Linked DNA regions of Homo sapiens: regions 2, 3, 4, 5, 6 and 7 are each linked to region 1. The links are contacts of gene promoters, found by promoter capture Hi-C in blood cells and fetal thymus (Javierre and others, 2016). All regions are on one chromosome and are shown on one strand. Each heading gives the region's core, a stretch centred on a gene start or on the middle of the fragment in contact. The rest is flanking DNA. Distances are from core to core; before and after follow the strand shown. Region 1 holds the start of PLD1 (phospholipase D1). Region 2 overlaps FNDC3B (fibronectin type III domain containing 3B). Region 3 overlaps FNDC3B (fibronectin type III domain containing 3B). Region 4 overlaps FNDC3B (fibronectin type III domain containing 3B). Region 5 overlaps FNDC3B (fibronectin type III domain containing 3B). Region 6 overlaps FNDC3B (fibronectin type III domain containing 3B). Region 7 overlaps FNDC3B (fibronectin type III domain containing 3B).

Region 1 (2,702 bases), core at 139-2,638:
GATTACAGGCGTGAGTCACCGCGCCCAGGCAGCACTCCAACTTTTTATATGGATTGTTAACTGTACTGGTTCTTGAGAAGCCAGACTGAGCGCTTATACAATTAGTCCAAAGATCCCCAAACAACATTTAAAGGCTGTCTACAAATTCAAGCTAAAAGACTGTGTACAAATTCATTTGTGTGTCACAAAACATTTAATACTGAAAGAGATTCTTATTCAAATAGGCAGTGTGTAAATGTGGGGTCTGTTAACAGTTCAAATTGCAGATTCCTTTCCTTCTTTAAGTTTTCATTGCACCACCACGAACTAAACCATTTAACATACCTCAGAGGTCTCTGGGTACCTAGTCTCTCAGAGGCCTTTGGAGGCCCACGAAGGCTTATCTTAACTAAAATTGGCAGGGCTGGCTGATAAAGTTAACGGAACTCCCCATTTTGGAGGCAGACTTAGTAATGGTCAAACGAAGAAACTGTTGTGGTCTGTTCTTAAAAAGCTACTAGTATTTAGTGCTTCACAGAGGAAGTAAAGAAAGCAATAATCCGAGATGAGGAGGAGCAAATACAGGCGTGGCGGTAGTTCAGGACTGAGTCTACAAGGGCGGTTCTCAAGGGCGTCACAAAATCCTATGGAAGGCTTGGAGGACGGCACTCCTGGATCTGAGCCCTACGTCCCAAACACCTTCAATCGTATTGTGAGGAAGAAGACCTTTTACACACTCCCTGCTGCTGGCCCCCGGCCCCCTCGCCCCACCTCCGAGTGGTCACATCACACGGCGGGAGCCGCGGTCAGCAGCTGTGATCACACCCCCAGGACCGTGCTCTGCGGGCTGGGCTCGAAGCCTTGGGACGCGGCACTTCCTGGTTGGTACGGGATGCCGGTCCCATCGCCCCCACCAGCCCAGTCATGCCACCGCGCACCCGAACCAAGGGCGCCCGGATGACCTGGGGACACCACACACACTGCACCCGAAGCCCTGTGGCGGCGAGGCGGTGCATCCTGCAGAGGACGCCTGGGCTTCAGCCTGAGCCTGCGCGGCTCTGCGCTCCAGGCAGCCGCCCGCGCGGCAAAAGTGCGTGCCAGAGTTGTCAGCTTTCACCCTGCAGGAATTCCACCCGAAGGCGTGCGAGGGAGGCCCTTGGGGATCGCTAGGGAGTCCGCCGCCGACTCACTCGCTGAAATCCCGTCCAAGTTGGGCGGGGAGCGGCCAGCTGCCCAGGTTGGGCGGAGGAGGGACGGAGGGCGAGGGCAGTGGAAACCCGGCTCCCACGGGCGCCCGGTGATCCGGGTCTCGGCGCGGCTCCTACCTGCAGGGCGAAGGGGCCGCTAGCACCTGCGCGTTGGCGGCGGACTCTCAGGGCTCGGGTGCCTCTGGCACAGCTGGAGCTCAGCGGGAGGGAGGGAGAGAGGGCGGGCCGGAGGGGGCTCTGCGCTGCGCGGCCGGCAGGAACTCTCCGCCCGGATTCGCCCCGGATTCGCAGGGGTGGAGCGAGGCGGTGCCAGGTCCCGGGGCGTCGCGGTGCCGGCTGGAGGCCCCAGCGGGGCAGGTCTCGCGACTGGGCCTCTGATCGCCCGCGTTCCTTGTTCTCTTTTCCCAAAGTTTCATAACTCGACCGCATCACCCTAGGGAATGCTCGCTATTAGGACCATTATCAGGTCCTCTCGAGCCGCCAAGGACCAGCCACCTTTCCCGGAGCTTTGCCTATGATATCTATTCTTCGACTACTGCGGATAGTAGCCACAACTGGTCCAACTTATAAGTAAGGAATCAGCAAATCAAACGGCTAAATAACTTGCCTGAGGTGACATAATTAAGAGACTGGAGCTTTGCTGGAGTCTTTATAAGCCTTCTTGCACCTCCTTAGGGAAGTGTTATCGCCAATTTACAGGTAAGGAAATGAAGGCTCAGAACCAGCCCGAGGTCACACAGCTTAGATGGAGGGGGACGGGAATTTGTGTCCCGATGTCTCTAAAACTGGTTATAATTCAGAAATCTTAGCATAAAATAATAAATTGGGAGCAAAACAGGGAAAAGACCCATTCCACCTATGGAACCGTTCAAACACGGCAATTTTGCTGTTTTCAGTCCACTTAGAATAAAGTCTTAAGAAAAAGAGAACCAGTTGTCATGTGGCTTGAATAGCAGCCCTTTGGGAATGTAATTTTGAATATAGGCCAGTTCCAACCTCATTACACGATATTGCATCCCGCCAAAGCCAGGGGAAGCAATGGCCTCCCCATGCACCAAACTGCTAATAACGTCAGCCACTTTAAAGCATTTAGTGGATATTACACAACTGCGACTGACCAAGTTACATAATGTCTTACTGCACACATGGCATTGCATGAAATGAAAAATATAATATACCAGTCCAAATTAGGGGAGGGGGGCCAAATTATAGTCTGGAACTCAGTTTTCCTGTAACCTACAGTTGCTCAGCCCTCCTTAGACCACATTTTTGTCTCTTGAGCACATCTTTTCCTAATGATAGAAGAGTCACACAGCCCTCACTCTTTCCTTGTTGACATAAATGATTGATGTCTTTTGAATCCTATGATACTGACAGATTTTTACAATTAAACACATGACTCTCTGAGCAGAGTATTGCCTAAGAGGAGTTTAGTAAGTTTCAGACAAGCATGTTACTGGAAGGCAGAATACCCTCTCTCCTCCCCTCTTTCTCAAGCTTTATTAGTCACAGATG
Region 2 (2,702 bases), core at 104-2,603, 500 kb after region 1:
AGGAGACTCACTTGAACCTGGGAGGCAGAGGTTGCAGTAAGCTGAGATCATGCCATTGCACCCCAGCCTAGGCGACAGAGCGAGACTTCATCTGAAAAAAAAAAAAAAAAAGCCAAGTGTTGCTAAAACCTTGAGTTTTTAAGAGAAGCCAGAAGTTTGGTTTTTAAAATGAGAGCGCTCCAGATATTTTTCAGTGAAGGCTTAATTTTTACTTTTTTATTTCAGAAAATGTTAGATATAGTCAGAAGTAGATAGTAGTTTAGATAGTAGTAGTTTAATGAACTCTCATCACTCAACTTCTGTTACCTCATTGTCCTCACTTACCTCTCCCCTGCCCTGATGATTTTGAAGTAAGGTTCAGACATCATATTATTTCACCTATAAACTATATTACCATCATCACACACACCTGAAATGTCTTCACAATCCCGGGACTGTTCCCATTTCCTCAGTTCTAAGAATGAAGATTTTGTTTCTTTAGTTTGTTGTAATTGGAATTCAAATGTGTGAATATGTGGTTTGGTTGATATGTCTTAAATATATTTTAATCCATTCATTTTTCCCTTTATCTTTTTCTCTTTCTTGCAACTTGTTTGTTAGATTAATTTGTTTGTCCTGTAGAGTCTTCCACAAGTATGAGTTTGGCTGACTGCATCCGTGTTGTGTTGCTTAATATTGTTCTCCTGTCCTCTATATTTCCCATAAAGCAATGAAGAGGTTTAATCAGATACAGGTTCAGTTTTTCTGCCAAGACAGTTTTGTAGGTAGTGACATAGTCCTTTATTAGGAATGCATGGTGTCTGGTTGTCTCTTTTTGTGATGGTCATTGCCTGTATCTTTTAATTCATAGGTGGCTCTAATACTTCAAAACATTATGTTTTTGCACACTGCCACCACACATACACATGTGTCTTGGGTCAGATGCAACCCATGAGTCACCTGTTGGAGAATTCTGTGTATCAAAGTTCAGGCTTGAGCCCTGCCCATGTCTGGAACATGTTGTGATTCATTTAAAGTAACTTACTCCCAGTGAGCCCATCCTGACACAGGGAAATGATCTTACCAGATCTACCATTTAGTTTTATATTATCACGTGCCTACTTACAGTGCGTGCAAAAAGGACCTTTTCCTTCATCAGGGGTTGGGTGGAGAGCATCCCAATGATAAGCATTATTTGTTTGGATCAAATTTCATGCTGTCCTCCCATAAGGCAAATAGATCAAATATGTAATATGTATGTATTTTTATCTTTTGAGGTACAAAGTAGACATATCTATTAGTGCCTTTGACGTATGGCCTCTATGAATTTTTCATGATGGACTTTGTGGAGAAATGACTTTGCAAATCACACACACACTTGGGACCTATCTTCCATAATGTTGTTATCTTTACCTGTTGTTTGTGTTCATTGGGTAGGGCTAAGGGAAGTGGATTGTGGTGTTTAGAGGAACATGATTGCAGGATGAACAAGGGGAATAGGCAATACCGTATATACTGGTTAGACTTCCAGGGATAAATACCATTGATCCAAATTTCTAACTGTGTGGCCTTGGGAAATGTACTTCATCTCTGTGTTTCCTTCTGTCTGCAATGGGTAATAAGATTTCCCTACCTCAGAGAGGGTGGCTATAAGAATTAAGGGCTCAATATCTATTTGCCAACTCTGTGAATAGTTTAATCCTTGCATCTGTTTTAGGCAGCAAAGTGTTCTTTGTTGTTGTTGTTTTTTAAGAGTACATTTTCAATTTTGAAAAAATAAATTCCCAGTATAAAAAATGGAATAGTAGGAAGATGATAAAAATCAGCATAGCCCTATTTTATGCTATTTGAAGAGTGTGGCATTAATAGTATGTTCTATGCTTTTTCTTCATGGCTTCTCTGGAGAAATCAAGCACATATGTTGCAGTGTTGAGCCAAACATTTTAGTGTACAGACCGAACATCTTTAATCTTGGCTTCATGTATAAGAGTTAAATATTCACGTGGATTAAACTGTACCTGAACATTGTTTTTGTGGAATTAGAGAAAGTCACACTTGTTAGCTTCTCTGTGAAACATCCCTAGTTTTACATAAATGTGTACAGTATTAAATGTAGTTCAAAGATGGTATCTACCCTGTTTGTACTTTTATGCTTTCTCTCCAGTCTGTGACCTCTTATTACTGTTTCTTTTGCCTTTTTATCCAGCTCTTAACTCTTAGCCTTTTTCCAGATAAAGTCAACCAGAGAGTAGCTCATGGGGTTTTAGAACATATATTTGGAGATCGTTCTGGGGTTAAGGTTTATTTTCTTACTTAGAATAATCTCTTCTAGTCAGTAGATCCTGCCTATCTTGAAATGGAGCTGGGTGGCACACACTGAGACAAATACCTGTTGGGATGACTGTCCCCTGTTAATGCTAACCATAGGTCAGGACAAGACCAACAGATAAGAGCAAGAGCATGATACTCACTCCGTAAGAAATTCTGTTCATCTACAGAAAGCCTTAGGGTGAAACAAAGATAAGAATCCTGGTCTTCTATGATGAGTCACTGCCACTGACTGTGTCTGTTTTGTTTTCAGGGTGTATGCCATGTACAATTCCGTAAAGGGATCCTGCTCCGAGCCTGTTAGCTTCACCACCCACAGCTGTGCACCCGAGTGTCCTTTCCCCCCTAAGCTGGCACATAGGAGCAAAAGTTCACTAACCCTGCAGTGGAAGGTG
Region 3 (2,702 bases), core at 113-2,612, 470 kb after region 1:
AACACATATTCGTTGTTGTTGTTGTTGTTGTTGTTGTTTGTTTGGGGACAAGTCTCCCTCTGTTGCATAGGCTGGAGTGCAGTGGCGCCATCTCAGCTCACTGCAGGCTTCAACTCCTCGGGTTCTAGCGATCCTCCCACCTCAGCCTCCCAAGTAGTCGGGACTACAGGCATGTGCCACCAAGCCCAGCTAATTTTTGTATTTTTCGTAGAGATGGGGTCTTACTATGTTGCTTAGGCTGGTCTTGAACTCCTGGGCTCAAGCTTTCTGCCCGCCTTGGCCTCCCAAAGTGCTGGGATTACCGGCATGAGCTACCACATCCAGCCATCAACACACATTCTTAATATTGTTTTCTTTTGTCCCCATTCATGCTTATCAGCATTAGTAGGCATTGACTAGGTATCTAGCTTGTCCTTATTATTGAGTAGTCACATTTTTCGTTTTCACCTAAAATTATTTATTTCTGTTTCTTTTTTGTTTGTTTGTTTTCATATTGATTGTTTACTGTTGGCTTTAGGCTTCTTATCTCCAAAATGAGCATGATCAGAAGCCACACATTTTCCACGCCCCTAGTTCATTATACATGATTTGTTAAAGAGAGTAGCTATGTCAGCTCCTTGGCAGATCTGAGAAAGCATATGATGTTATGACAGGGATATCTACAAATGAGCCTTGTGGATAAGAACTAGACAGAAGGTTTAGAGAGAAATAATGTTGATGTCATCCCATTGGAATGATAGAGCTGTTACAACCAGAAATACATTCTATAGCTAGTAGCTAAGTGTGTAGCTCTATTTCTTTTCTAAGAAGGAAAAAATGTGAAATAAACCAAAGAAGTAAAGTATGTTTATAAAGGAGGATATTTTAATTAGTTTAGGTCTTAACAGTTATTCAAACAGTCTGAACTTAGGTTTCTTTTTGGAGCAAACATGAAAACCATTATTTATGGAAAATTTAAATTTCACATGACACATCTTCCCTCTATGTGTGTGGGTTTTTTCTTTCTTTCTTTTTTTTGAAAAAAACTATTTGCTTTGCTTGTGTATTTTTATTTCAACCTTCCTTTTACTAAAAATGCTTTATTTCCTTGGTGTAGGAGATTTGTTTTTAGGGAAAAGAAAGACTTGTGTCTCTAAGCTGAGCCCCCTTTCCCTTTTTTAGCATTTCCAGATAGGCTGGTTCTCAGCTGACCATGTTTGAATTAGAGGCGCCCAACTTAGCTCCTTTTCAAAAACTTTCCTACCATTAAATGTGCCTATATCTGCAAAACAAAATGCCCCTTCTCTGTGTGAAACACTATACAAGAGTGCCTTATTATTATTATTTATATTTATTTATTTATTTATTTATTTATTTATTTATTTATTTATATTTTGAGACGGAGTCTTGCTCTGTTGCCCAGGCTGGAGTGCAGTGGCACGATCTCAGCTCACTGCAACCTCCACATCCCGGGTTCAAGCGATCTCCTGCCTAAGCCTCCTGAGTAGTTGGGATTGCAGGTGTGCGCCACCACGCCCGGCTAATGCCATTCAACTGCTAAGAAGGCAGCAATGTAGAAAATGGTTTTCATGTTCATTTACCCCAGCCGTGGTCACCAGCAAGGTGGAATCAGGTGGAAAATGGTTTCGATCTGTTTACTTACGTTGTGGCTGCTTCAGTGTAAGGAATAGGAAATATAGGGTTTGCTTACATGATTTTGTCTAATTTATTTACTGCACACCAGAAGGTGGAAAATAGCCCCTGAGAATGAAGAATAAGAAACTTGTCCTCTGACCTTGCACCAGAACCTTGCATTTGTGCACTTCTGGGGCAATCTCTTGTTTAGTTGGCTCACACCAAGTACCAAGTTCTTAAGAGGGGAAGAAACAAAAACCAGACAGAGTTTTCAGCTTGAATAAAAGAAGCTACCCTAAAGGCAAATCAGCAGAATTTTTTTGTTTTGTTTGCTTATTTTTGTGAGGGGATCAGTTATTCTTCTTTCCTTCACAATATGGGAGGTGTGTGCATGAGAGAGACAGGAGAAAAAAAACAAAAAAAAAGAAAACATGCCACCAAACAATAGCTTCATCCAAACTCTGACATACACTCTTTGTACAGCTGGGCTCTGAAACTGTTTTATGGAAAGAGTGGTCATTCAGTGTACTTCGAGGCACGCTTAGATCATGCTTAGGGTGAGATAGGCCAAGGGCTTAGTTAACTCGCTTATTTAGGTCGTAGAGATGTGAATTTTGACATTTTCATACTAGACTGTTAGCTTTCGTACAAGAGTTGATCGTTTATGTGGGAAGTAACTGTCACTTTAAAACAAATTTTATTTTTACTCTTGTTTGGTGCAAATTGTGTCCCTGGGTTTTATTTACCTTTTCCTTCTTAGTCTGTGGCAGCACGAATGGAAAAGCATTACATTAAATAAATGTAATATAAGTGCATTTTTCTCTCTTTTTTCCCATATTTACAATTAGAAGCTTGAAAGAAGACAGAATTCCATCTGGCCTTGGTACCACGTTTCTCCTAACATGAGGGGCTAGTGACCAGACACGATAGGGCAGTGATTGCTTTGTCACTGCCTTCCCTCCCCATGCCCTGCCATTTTTATTTTTGATCTTCTCAGAATCCTTTGTTTATTTGGCCCCATTCAAGGCCCACTTTTTAAATTCTTCCTTTCTTCATATACATTCCCAGCAGATAGGTGGCCTTTGCTC
Region 4 (2,702 bases), core at 104-2,603, 420 kb after region 1:
CATTTCTAAAACACCAACTGCTTGTGCATTGTATGGTCTTTATTTACCGTTTTTTTTTTTTTTTTTTTGAGATGGAGTCTTGCTCTGACGCCCAGGCTGGTGTGCAGTGGCATGATCTTGGCTCACTGCAACCTCTGCCTCCTGGGTTCAAGCAATTCTCGTGCCTCAGCCTCCCAAGGAGGTGGGATTACAGGCGCGCATCACCATGCCTGGCTAATTTTTATATTTTTAGCGGAGATGGGGTTTCATAATGTTGGTCAGGCTGGTCTCAAACTCCTGACTTCAAGTGATTCACCTGCCTCAGCCTCCCAAAGTGCTGGGATTACAGGTGTGAGCCACCACACCCTGCCAGTATGGTCTTTAATTGTAAGAAAATTGAAGAGGGAGGCAAGTAAATCAAGATTTTATGGTAATAACTCTAATCTGATTGAATAGAGAAGTTCTTGATTATAGCAGATTTGTTGTATAATTAAATAGCCGAAAGTCCTTTAAAGATAAATTAATAAAATTGGTCAAATCTGACAAAATACAAATGTCAGTAATAAGCAGATAATAAACTCCTGAAGTTTAACAGACAGCTGTGGAGGTGCAATCAACAGCACGAGCTTTGTTTTCTTAGGTTGAGAAGGGCTGAATTGGTGGACCTTACAGATAACTGTGGACTTAGGGTGCAAAAACAGTGGAATCCTGTCATTTCAGCTTGGTGGTTTCTCTGATATAGTAGGTTGGGGGATGTGGTGTGTTTTGTGCCTTATTTTTTAGTGGGATGAGAGGTAGAGGGATTCTTTTCAACTTGAGAGAAAATATAGACCTTTTTTTAAACTATGAGAAAGTGGATTTAGGTAAGTGGGAATTTAATCTTATCACAGTCATCATCTCCATTATGTAAAAGCACTTGTGAGTGTGATTAGAGTTGAAACTGAAGGAGAACATGGACGTTACCTGGAGAGGCCTTTCTTCAGATTCCATCTTGGCTACTTTCTGTGTAACTTTGATAAATTATTTCACCACATATGTGAACACCTACTTGACGTGGTAGAGGTAAGAATTAGGAGAAATGTTATGTGAGGTGTGGCACTCAGTAAGTAGTAGCTACTACAATGAAAAAGACTGTTACAACAGTTCCAATGGAAGTTTGGCAGAGCTTGCCCTCCTAAATACATATTGAAATCACATGGTGTGAAGGAAAATTTTCCTTCCATTGTATACTGGCCATGGCTCTCTGTTTTTTAACCTCACCATTAACTTTCTGAATAATTTATATGTAAAAATTTCTTAAGCAGATGCTTTGAGTTTTATTTTCCATGCTTCCGTAGTAATTTATGATACATTTGCTCAAATGTTATAGGGAAAACTTCATATTGACCCAAGGATTTAAAAAGCATATGAAGAGAAAAAGTGAAACCTCCAAGTTAATGTTCTATCATTTGGGAAACCACTCTTCTTTTTCCAGATTAACTGTTGTAATCCCAAAAGTTAGTAGTCAAAATAAATATTTTTGTTGTGAGAGCAGAAACAACAAAAATACCGCATTGGATTATTTTGGGGATTAATTAATGGGTCAGTACCTGTTGAAATTATATATATTTCATTTCCCTTAGCCAGGGAAAGACAAGAAATGTATTGAAAAATATATTTGAATTTTGGTTTGGTTGGTCATTTGCCAATGATGAGTGGAGAGCTGGCCAGAAAGCAGACACCTCTGTGGAGAAACAGTGGGGCCTGTTAGGTGGAAGCTGTGCAATACTTTCCCCCCATTTCGCTTAGCCAAGCCAGCTGAGCTATAGACATTAGCCTCAACTGCTTCCCTTTGGTAATTACAGCTGGGGATTAAACCACTGCTTTGTTTCACCTTCAACGTTGTGAAAATGATAACAGAAAGGCACATGGGGGACTGCCCTATGCCCTGAGAAACTGAGATTCAGACCCATTTGGTGGCCAATAAGGAGAATTGGATTCTCTTTCAACACTCTTGGTCCTTCAGAGGAACTGATTTCTCTATAGGAAGTTAGGGAATTGTTCCATAGTGTACATTGTGTGCATGGGGGTTGGTATTGTGTTCCATGGAAAACAGCATAGTACTTAGATATTTCGTTTCAGTTATCAATGGATTTGAAGCAATTTTATTTTTTATCTTGTGGCTTATTTTGTCCAAGGAGCAATTACAGACAGGGTTGGCAATGCTAAATTAAAGAAATGTACCAAGGACATCCCCTCCCCTCAAAGTATTGTGCAGTTTCGTCTTTCTGAGCCTTCTCCCTGTTCTGCATTTTCTCTTTGATTTCTTTCCTTTGTTTCTGTGATCCCGGCATCGTGACATAATAGAACATGGGATTAGTGGGAGGAAACGAGGGCCCAAGCGAGGCTCTACATCCAACTCTCTGTGTGATTTTAGGAATATTAAGTGATTTATTTGGGTGTGTCACTTGTTTACTTGATCATTGTCTGTCTTCCTTTTAGCATTTAAGTCCACAAAGGCAGGGACCTTGTGTGTCCTGTTCAGTCCTGTTCATCACTTGATCTCTAGTTCCTTGAAAGGTACCCAGCACATAATAGGCATTTATCAAAATTTGGCTATCTGGCTGGAGTGATTTTTATCTCATGGAGGGAAGCGGAGAGAGGAAAGTGTTTCAGGATCTCTGGGGTTCTTTTCTAATCTAAAATTAGATTATTCTCCTCTGTTCATATTATTCCTTAACAGG
Region 5 (2,702 bases), core at 73-2,572, 360 kb after region 1:
ACTGCTTGTAAGAGAAGACAACGTGTAATTTTTGAGTTACTGTATGACTCACGTTGGAAATGTTTAAAGCCTTCTGTAGGCATGGTGTGGTGGCTCACACCTGTAATACCAGCACTTTGGGAGGCCGAGGCGGGAGGATCACTTGCACTTAGGAGTTTGAGACCAGCCTGGGCAACATAATGAGACTTTGTCTCTACAAAAAAAAAAAAAAATTAAAAAAATTAAAAATAAAAAAAATTAGCCAGGCATAGTGGTGCATACCTGTAGTCCCAGCTACTCAGGAGGCTGAGGTGGGAGGATCTCTTGAGCCTGGGATGTCAAGGCTGTTTGAGTTGTGATTGTGGCACTGTGTTCCTGCTTGGGCAACAGAGCAAGACCCTGTCTGGGGGAGGGGTGGGGCGCGGGGTGGGAAGCCTCCCGATGTCCTAGGAATAGAAGGCTTTTGCTGTTGCAGGAGTACTGAAATGGAATAGTAGGAGCTGCCAGTGAAACTCATTCAGTGTTGATGTAGCATGTTTTAAGAATGTGTTATTTACGGGGAAAACTCTCGAGTTCGTCAGCGAACTGAGAATCCATTCATGGGTGCAGAAAAAGATGCCCATTGCGGGAAATGTGTCTGTACTCTGTGGCACCTCCTTAGGTGGGAGGAATGTGGTGGGGGCTGTGAAGACTGTGCCACTTTCACACCTCTGCATGCAGAATGACTCTCATTCTCTTTTACCAAAGAGCGAATTCATTATTGAACCTGTTAGGATCCAAGGCATTCAAGCATATTTGGGGAAGACTACTCTTGTTCTCTAGAGAGACAGGTCTAAATGATTAAGTTTCCAAATACTGAGCTTATTCCAGAAATAATTTGGTTTCTGCATGCTTTGTTTTCTACAGCATGGTGAGACTGCCACTTAGTTAGACTGAGTCTTGTGAATTGAAGCCTGTTTACAAGAAGTCTGACATACACACTATTATTTTTAGCCTGAACAACATGAAAACCATCTATTTAAAACTCCCAAATCTGAATGACAGTCTCATCTTGCTTAAAATTCCTTCTAGTACTTTTTAAGCCAACAGAAAGGAACATATAAACAATTTGTTAATTGCAACAGCTGGTCCCTGAGTATCTTTATGTTAATGTTTGGAATCTTTGAATTTGAAAGACTTTTAGAAAGAGCATCTGGATTAATGTAGTGCTATTCAGACTTCAGTCTTGAGAAGTGGAATCGACCTCATCAAGACAAACAAACAGGGGCCTTATACAGATTGGGAGGGCGACAGCAAAGGCATGGTGAAATTTCTTTAAAAATCTTAGTAGAGAATGAAGACAAATGGTCTCGGTTTGGTTGTGGGTGAATAGCCTCTTATTTAATTTAGTATGATGTTTATCTAGCTGCTGTGGTAAATGAGGTGAAATCTTTTGTGTATACAGTTAATTCCCAATTATTCATACATGCTTTAGCCAAATTGCTGATTCTCTGTGGACTTTGGAGACCTTCCCCCCGCCACCCCCCCCCCCCCAATACAATTTGCTGTCCATCCGGTCCCATGTCCTAGTTTCCTCTCTGGCCATGCTTTCTCACAGGGGTTCCCAGTTGCTCTCCTCATTTCCATCTTTGCTCCCTGACCAGGCCCCTGCTGCTTTTGCTTTCTCGCTGCTTTTGCTTTCTCTGCTGCATTCCCTGGATTTGTCTGACAGTCCAGGGTTCTTGTCTCCTTGCCGTTGTCTCTCTCAGTCATCTCAGAGTGGTAATAGAGAAGCTAGTTGATGGCCAGGGAAAAGCTACAGAGAGCTAATGTCTGCTGCTCCTTGCTTCTCTTCCTGTCACCTTTGGGCCTTTGTTGAATGAACAAGTGGAGAGTAAGTAGAGAAAGGGGTTTCCTGAAACATTTCCAGCCTGTTCTTTTAAGTGCTTTTTTTCCTCAGGATTTTATAGTCCTATACGTGGTAGGTAGGCGGATGGGCGGGTGGTGGGGGAGGTATTACAGCAAAATGCTTACATATTCTTTTCACCTCTTGTTTTCTTTTTTGTTCTCAACTGGGACCTACTATTCTCCTCCCCATTGCTGAAAGGCAAATTCTTAGAAAGGGGCCATTTAGAGTATGTGTAGCTGAAGAACCTCAAATAGTTCTTCATTTAGCAAATATTTAATTTCTTGAGTTCTTTTTATGTTTTGAATATTCTTAGAGATACGAAAATGAATTTGATGTAGATTCTGCCCTTAAAGGGGTTTAAGTAAAATCTAGAAGCAGAATTTACACAGACAACCACACAGAAAACCCTAAATCTAAAGCCGATATGTAAACACATGATTACCATAGTAAGTGAGAACCTTGTACCGCGTTGGAGAAGTGTGAAGGGTCTCCCCAGAAGACATTGTTTTTCCTGGGGAGGGGATCACAGTAGTACAGATGTGAAAAATCTGCCCTAATATTTTTTGTTTGCACTATGTGGATGGAAATGAAAACTTACCTGTAACAAACAGTTTTATCTATAGAATGTTTTATAAGCCTATTTTTGTTCCTTTTCTATTATATGTCTACACAGAATATAAATTTACCCCATCAGGTGAAAGCTCAGCATAGGTGTGCAAGCCCCACTTGGCTAAAATATTGGTTAGAGCAATAAAATCCTGTGTTCCATTCCCAAACCAGTTCCAAGCCAGGTAATGGGTTGAAAAGGCCTTTGATTAGTTGGATTTCCTATAAA
Region 6 (2,702 bases), core at 131-2,630, 330 kb after region 1:
AACCCAGGAAGAGGACCTGTTGCAAATGAAGCTTGCTTTCAAAGATTGTAGTGAATCTCTGTCTTGGCTGAAATTTGCAACCAGTTTTTTGATTAAAAATATTTGGGTGATTTGAAAGTAAAATTATTGTAACATGAATGCATTAAATTCTGAATCTTTGCCAACTTTTATTATATTGGATGAATTGTTATTTGACTATTTGTAAAATGTCTGTATTATAAATGGAAATGTTTCTTCCTATTACAAGATTAGGATTTTAGGAGCTTGTTTTCTACATAAGAAACTGCCTTGAAAACCATTTCTTTTTTTTTTTGTTTTTTGAGACAGGGTATCCTGTCTCAAAAACAAAGACCTGGCTCTGAGACAGACTTGCTCTGTCACCCAGGCTGAAGTGTAGTGGCACGATCAGATCATAGCTCGTTGCAGCCTTGACCTCCTGAGCTCAAGTGATCTTCCCACCTTGGCCTCCCAAATTGCTGGGATTACAGGCATGAGCCAGTGTGCCTGTCCGAAACCCATTTCTTTAGTATTTGGTGGATTTGTGAGGGATTGCTAACAAGCTGAAATGTTATTGTGAACACTTAGGCCTCACTTGGAAAATCTTCTAGAATTGAAAATAGCAAGTCATTTGCCAAGGCTAGCCCTAGTGTCATGGCCATCTTTCTTTCTGATTGATCCAAAGCTGTATATGGTGAGAGTTAATCCTCCCAGGAGGCTCTAAGCCAAGATAGTCTGAATTTCTAGGAAAATCTGAATTACTCTACCAACTCTCCAGCTTACCTTATGATACTTAAATGTTAGCTTCAAGACCAATCAGTCTTTTACCTGTGTGTGTCTGTACTACAAATATATATTTACGTGTGTGTATATATATTTGCTTCATTAGACGATTTTTCCATTTTCCATGATTGGATTTACATGAAATTTGGAGAAAGATTGAAGAAAAATTACTTTCAGCTTTGTGGAGTACTCTTGATCTCTGAAATGTTTGGGGGCTCTATTTTGCACATGACAGTTAGCAATTCCTCTCAACATGGACTGATGCACAGCTATTTGTTACAAGTAGACATTCCATACGCTGACCTGAGAAACCCTTTTACAGACAGCAGCTTGCTGCTGAGTAACTGGAAGTTTACCAGCAGGTGGTTTCCACCAGGGCCGGAAAATACTGACGGGCCCAGAGCAGAAAGTCCAGGTTATGGAAGGAATGAGAGCAAAGGCTGTGATTGTACGTGCAACTGTCATCTTGCTGGGATTGTGTAATGTCATGAGGCTGGGTTACGTCAATACCAAACTATGTTGCTTTCCTAGGAGGTTTTAAGTCCCTCTCAAGGGAGGTACTCAGGGTATATGCTGCTTCCTGCCTTTCTCCTTCTTCCTGTCTCAGTTATCTTGATTTTTATGTTTATTCTTATATTTACATAAGAACGGAATGTTAAACCCTTAGATAAAACTGTCACCCAATGTTGTGTCATCAGACTTAAGATGAATTGGTGTTGAGTTCTCAGAGTACAGCTCTGTAGTGTGAATCCCTGGTCATTTCGTAGCTAATGCTTAACCTGTTAGCCCCAATTTCCTCTCTTAAAATGGGAACAATGATAGTACCTATCTGATAGGATTGTGAGGATAATCCATTGTAAGTGTCATTATTCTTATCATCATTATCTAGTTGTATACACAGCTTTACTGATTTTTCCCCCCCCTAAATAGATGGCATGATTGTGGGCAATGACTTCATTTTCCTACTTGTAGAAATCAGTTGAAATTCTAGTCTCCCTTTCATTGCTTATTTATGATAGACTTGCTTTCATAGGGTTGCTGGTGATGGCACCAGTTCAAACATTTTAGATGAAGGTTTATAAGAATGTGTATACTGTTCAGATATGGGGTTATAGCTAAAACAATGGGTCCAGTGTTCCATGAATTTAAAGTAAATTTTGTTGTAGATTTTTAGTTGTTGGTTTTCTTTTGAATAACAGCCGTTCACTCTTGCACCACGCCTGAGCAGCTATATTCAGAGAAGGCTGTATCCTCTTATTTTATCCAACAAAGCAGTTTTTCTAATGTGCCTCCTTTTACATTTTCATTGAATTCCATACTTCTGGCTGGGCATAGTGGCTCACGCCTGTAATCCCGACACTTTGGGAGGCCAAGGTGGGGCAGATCACCTGAGGTCAGGAGTTTAAGTCCAGCCTGGCCAACATGGTGAAACCCCATCTCTATTTCCCCCTAAATACCAAAATACAAAAATTAGCTGGGCTTGGTGGTTGGCACCTGTAATCCCAGCTACTCAGGAGGCTTGAGACAGGAGGATCACTTGAACCTGGGAGATGGAGGTTGCAGTGAGCTGAGATCGTGCCATTGCACTCCAGCCTGGGAGACAGAGTGAGACTGCGTCTCAAAAAAAAAAAACTTGTTTCCATACTTGTTAAAATTTTTATTTAGTGCATTCTGTTTCTTAGGCAGTACCAAGAAGCAGTCAGGGCTATATATTGGGAAGATCATTATAGATTTTGGAGTGAGATTGCCTGGCTCAAAAATCCCCTGCACATTAGATGTATATTGTAAAATTAGTTCCTTAACTTCTCTACACCTCAGTTTCCTTATCTGTAGAGCTGGAATAGTAATTTCTCTCTGGAAGGATTGCTGTGATTAAATGAGTTATTGTGTACAGAGCACTAAGAACAATTTCTGAGTCATAG
Region 7 (2,702 bases), core at 116-2,615, 290 kb after region 1:
AGAATTAGTGTGCAGGTGCCCCAAACAGTGCCTTTGCCCCAGCAGGCTGAAATAGCAGCTTCAAAGCTCTTCCTCCACATCTTTCCAGAAAGCAATCAGTTGTTTGGTGCTTGCAACACATTTTTTTTTTCTTCTATTCAAGGGTGTTATGCATGTCTCTTAGGTGCCCAAATTGATGCACAAATGTGAATTTGATTCGTAATAGATCTCTACAAATAGAACAATAAAATACATTTTGGATCTTATTAAAGGGCTATCTGGAAGTCATGTACTTAAGCAGCCATATCATTCATATTATACATAAAGAAACTAAGACACAGAGAGCTTACATAGGAAAACCTTGAACCACAGTCCTGAAAAGCAGTGGGACCTGTCAAAGTGCTGTGGGGTGCCAGGCAGGTGTAGTGCCCAAGGTCTGGGCAAGGGCTGGGTAAAGCGTGAGCTTCTGGCGCTGGGGAGGAGGAGCATGTGTTCTGACTTCCTGTCTCTTTCCACCTCCCCGTGCAGATTAGAATTAGACTTCCTCAAGGGGCTTTAGAAGTGATGTTTTTCACTATCTGACTACAGTTCTGTAGACTTTTCTCTCACTGTCTTACAGAAACACATAACATTTCAAATTTCACTGAAAATCTATATTTTCAGTTATTCCCATGTTTGGATGCTGTGACCAGGTTAGCTTGGGTATGTGTGAGAATAAGGGCTCATAGCTTTGGCATGTTTCCTTGTAGATACTTGACTGTCATCCTTGGGATGTCAGGGTGTGAGATGTATTGTGATATGAGTGTACCTGGAATCTAAGTGTTCTAATAAAAATGGTTAATTACGTCTGCAAGCTTATGTAAATACCACTTAAAAACAACGAACAAAGCAAACGAACCTTTGGTTGGTAAACTTTTTTTGTAGATAAGCCCCCTTTCCCTTTTAGTTAATATTTGCAAAACTGAGCTGGTATTATGTGAGGATGTGGATCTGAGGTCAAGAGATTGTGTATATATAGTGATGTAATTTTTTTCCATTTAGTTTTTATGTTTCTGTAAAATTTGGGGTATGTCGGGCTGCTATGGAAGCAACCTCTTTATATTAATAGGGGTTTACGGAAGCAGCCTCAAATTACATGTAATTTTTACTCATAATCCTTATATATATGGATTTTTCTCCCCGAGAAAATAGTGCTTTCCTGTACATTAGATTTGAGTTCAGACATGACTCTGCTTTGCCAAATTTAAAATTATGCCAAGCCAAAAATGTTTAAAAAGCATCTATGGATTCTTGAAGGCAGGGCCTATACAATAGGGACATCCATCCCCTTTTTGCACTTAAGGGCACAGTGGATGGTTCCTTTGGGCTTGTTGCTTGAACCTAGTATTTATTTTAATCTGAAGTGGTGGTGTTTTTAATCTAAAAAACTCAGTTTCACAGGATTTCTCTGTGGATTTAAATGCTCCCGACTAAATCTTTTATGCTTATAATTGGATGTAAAACGCAAGAACGTTTTTAAGGTTAAGAACTTTTTCAGACAACTGTGATTTTACTTCACTAATGAACACATATCAGACAAGAAGGCAAATTCCAGACTGTTTGTGCCTCAACCAAGCAGCTGGGCACATACCTCCAGGTACTGCTCATGTCTCAAGAGGTTTTTCTGCATGAACAATTATCACCACTCCTTCTTTCCTTCAAGTGGCAAGCCATGGCAAGAGTCTTTCTTGCACAGCTGTATAGAACTCAGCTGTAAAATTAGATTTTATTGGCATAAAAACACAGTGATTATCAGCACTGTGTGCTCAATACATTCTTTTCTCAACATTTTACTTAGATTCTTCCTTTTATGCAGAAGGCTCAAGCTGTACTTAAATGAAGGAAACAGGTTTTTAGAAGTTTTTTTATGTGTCTTTTTTTAAGCTTTAGTTTAATCAATATTAGGTATGCAGGGTAAGCAATTGGTATTGAAGGGAGGAAACATACTCCCTTAAGATCAGAAAGGAACCTTAAGGGCTAATCTATAATATTGTCATTTTATAAGAGGAAATTAATTACTGAAGTTCAGAGCTAATTATTTTATTGACAAATCCCAGATTAGAACTCATGTTTTCCAATACTCAGTGCTGGAGCCTGTCCACTATAGTTTTTTTTTTTTTTTCCAAAGTTTTTTTTAGCATAGGGGATGTGAAAAATTCTAATAACAGTTCTTAGTCCCTCTCCATATCCTTTTTTTGTGCTACTTAATTTGATTTTTTAAAAAGCAAAGGGGAATGTTTGCCTGAAGTGTACAGGAGCGATTAGCTCAAGGAAAAGCACTAAAACAACCTCTAGGTTTCTCCTGTCCAATGGCAGTGTCCCACATCAGGTTCATAATGGCGACATGCTAATTCCACATGGGCAGAGCCAATGCCAAGGCATTGGTGTAGTGTTACTGGGAAGAGAAAGAAAAGCCATATTCTCACAGTAGCAGGGAAGTGGTCAAAACAGTCAGGTGTGTGTTGATGGATGAGCAGATTTTCCCAGAATTTCAGAGGTAAAGAAGATCACATTGTGTTTCTATTTTGTTTTAATGAAATTTTTTTCCTTTTGTTGATGCTGTTGGTGTTTCCATGGTTATTATCAAAAGCAGTTTCTGGTTTTGCTGAAAGGCTAGAAATGACAACTATTTTCAGAGTTTCTAGGTCTTGAAACATCAGTCAACCTTTCAAAGCCAGCATTGA

The links. Contacts are between HindIII fragments. The CHiCAGO score rates a contact against its expected background, and 5 or more counts as called.
Region 2: a contact is called between a fragment that was not itself captured here and the fragment with the promoter of PLD1 in region 1, in 1 of 17 cell types (neutrophils). The highest score is 9.6, in neutrophils.
Region 3: a contact is called between a fragment that was not itself captured here and the fragment with the promoter of PLD1 in region 1, in 1 of 17 cell types (neutrophils). The highest score is 5.0, in neutrophils.
Region 4: a contact is called between a fragment that was not itself captured here and the fragment with the promoter of PLD1 in region 1, in 1 of 17 cell types (neutrophils). The highest score is 6.5, in neutrophils.
Region 5: a fragment that was not itself captured here is called in contact with the fragment with the promoter of PLD1 in region 1 in 1 of 17 cell types (neutrophils); the score reaches 5.1 in neutrophils.
Region 6: a contact is called between a fragment that was not itself captured here and the fragment with the promoter of PLD1 in region 1, in 3 of 17 cell types (M1 macrophages, M0 macrophages and M2 macrophages). The highest score is 8.0, in M1 macrophages.
Region 7: a contact is called between a fragment that was not itself captured here and the fragment with the promoter of PLD1 in region 1, in 1 of 17 cell types (M0 macrophages). The highest score is 5.2, in M0 macrophages.

Annotation. Positions count from the first base shown.
Region 1 is chr3:171,809,095-171,811,796 of GRCh38, forward strand. It overlaps PLD1 (phospholipase D1), which reads right to left and starts at 1,389. Exons shown (of 27, transcript NM_002662.5): 1 at 1,305-1,389. The HindIII fragment of the contact is 4,859 bases long and covers 1-2,682 here.
Region 2 is chr3:172,304,803-172,307,504 of GRCh38, forward strand. FNDC3B (fibronectin type III domain containing 3B) reads left to right here. Exons shown (of 26, transcript NM_022763.4): 10 at 2,561-2,699. Among named protein-coding and RNA genes, the nearest start is that of GHSR, 140 kb to the right of the region's middle. RefSeq lists an enhancer at 777-1,071. The HindIII fragment of the contact is 9,457 bases long and covers 1-2,702 here.
Region 3 is chr3:172,279,889-172,282,590 of GRCh38, forward strand. All of the region lies in intron 6 of FNDC3B (fibronectin type III domain containing 3B), which reads left to right. Among named protein-coding and RNA genes, the nearest start is that of GHSR, 170 kb to the right of the region's middle. The HindIII fragment of the contact is 2,202 bases long and covers 262-2,463 here.
Region 4 is chr3:172,231,831-172,234,532 of GRCh38, forward strand. The region is part of intron 4 of FNDC3B (fibronectin type III domain containing 3B); the gene reads left to right. Among named protein-coding and RNA genes, the nearest start is that of FNDC3B, 190 kb to the left of the region's middle. The HindIII fragment of the contact is 6,909 bases long and covers 1-2,702 here.
Region 5 is chr3:172,173,435-172,176,136 of GRCh38, forward strand. All of the region lies in intron 3 of FNDC3B (fibronectin type III domain containing 3B), which reads left to right. It overlaps LOC124906304 (a long non-coding RNA gene), which reads left to right. Exons shown (of 2, transcript XR_007096169.1): 2 at 1-2,702. Among named protein-coding and RNA genes, the nearest start is that of FNDC3B, 140 kb to the left of the region's middle. The HindIII fragment of the contact is 2,957 bases long and covers 1-2,702 here.
Region 6 is chr3:172,139,451-172,142,152 of GRCh38, forward strand. All of the region lies in intron 3 of FNDC3B (fibronectin type III domain containing 3B), which reads left to right. Among named protein-coding and RNA genes, the nearest start is that of FNDC3B, 100 kb to the left of the region's middle. RefSeq lists an enhancer at 1,065-1,888. The HindIII fragment of the contact is 2,703 bases long and covers 30-2,702 here.
Region 7 is chr3:172,102,277-172,104,978 of GRCh38, forward strand. All of the region lies in intron 1 of FNDC3B (fibronectin type III domain containing 3B), which reads left to right. Among named protein-coding and RNA genes, the nearest start is that of FNDC3B, 64 kb to the left of the region's middle. RefSeq lists enhancers at 859-1,003, 1,569-1,768 and a cis regulatory region at 924-937. The HindIII fragment of the contact is 1,069 bases long and covers 832-1,900 here.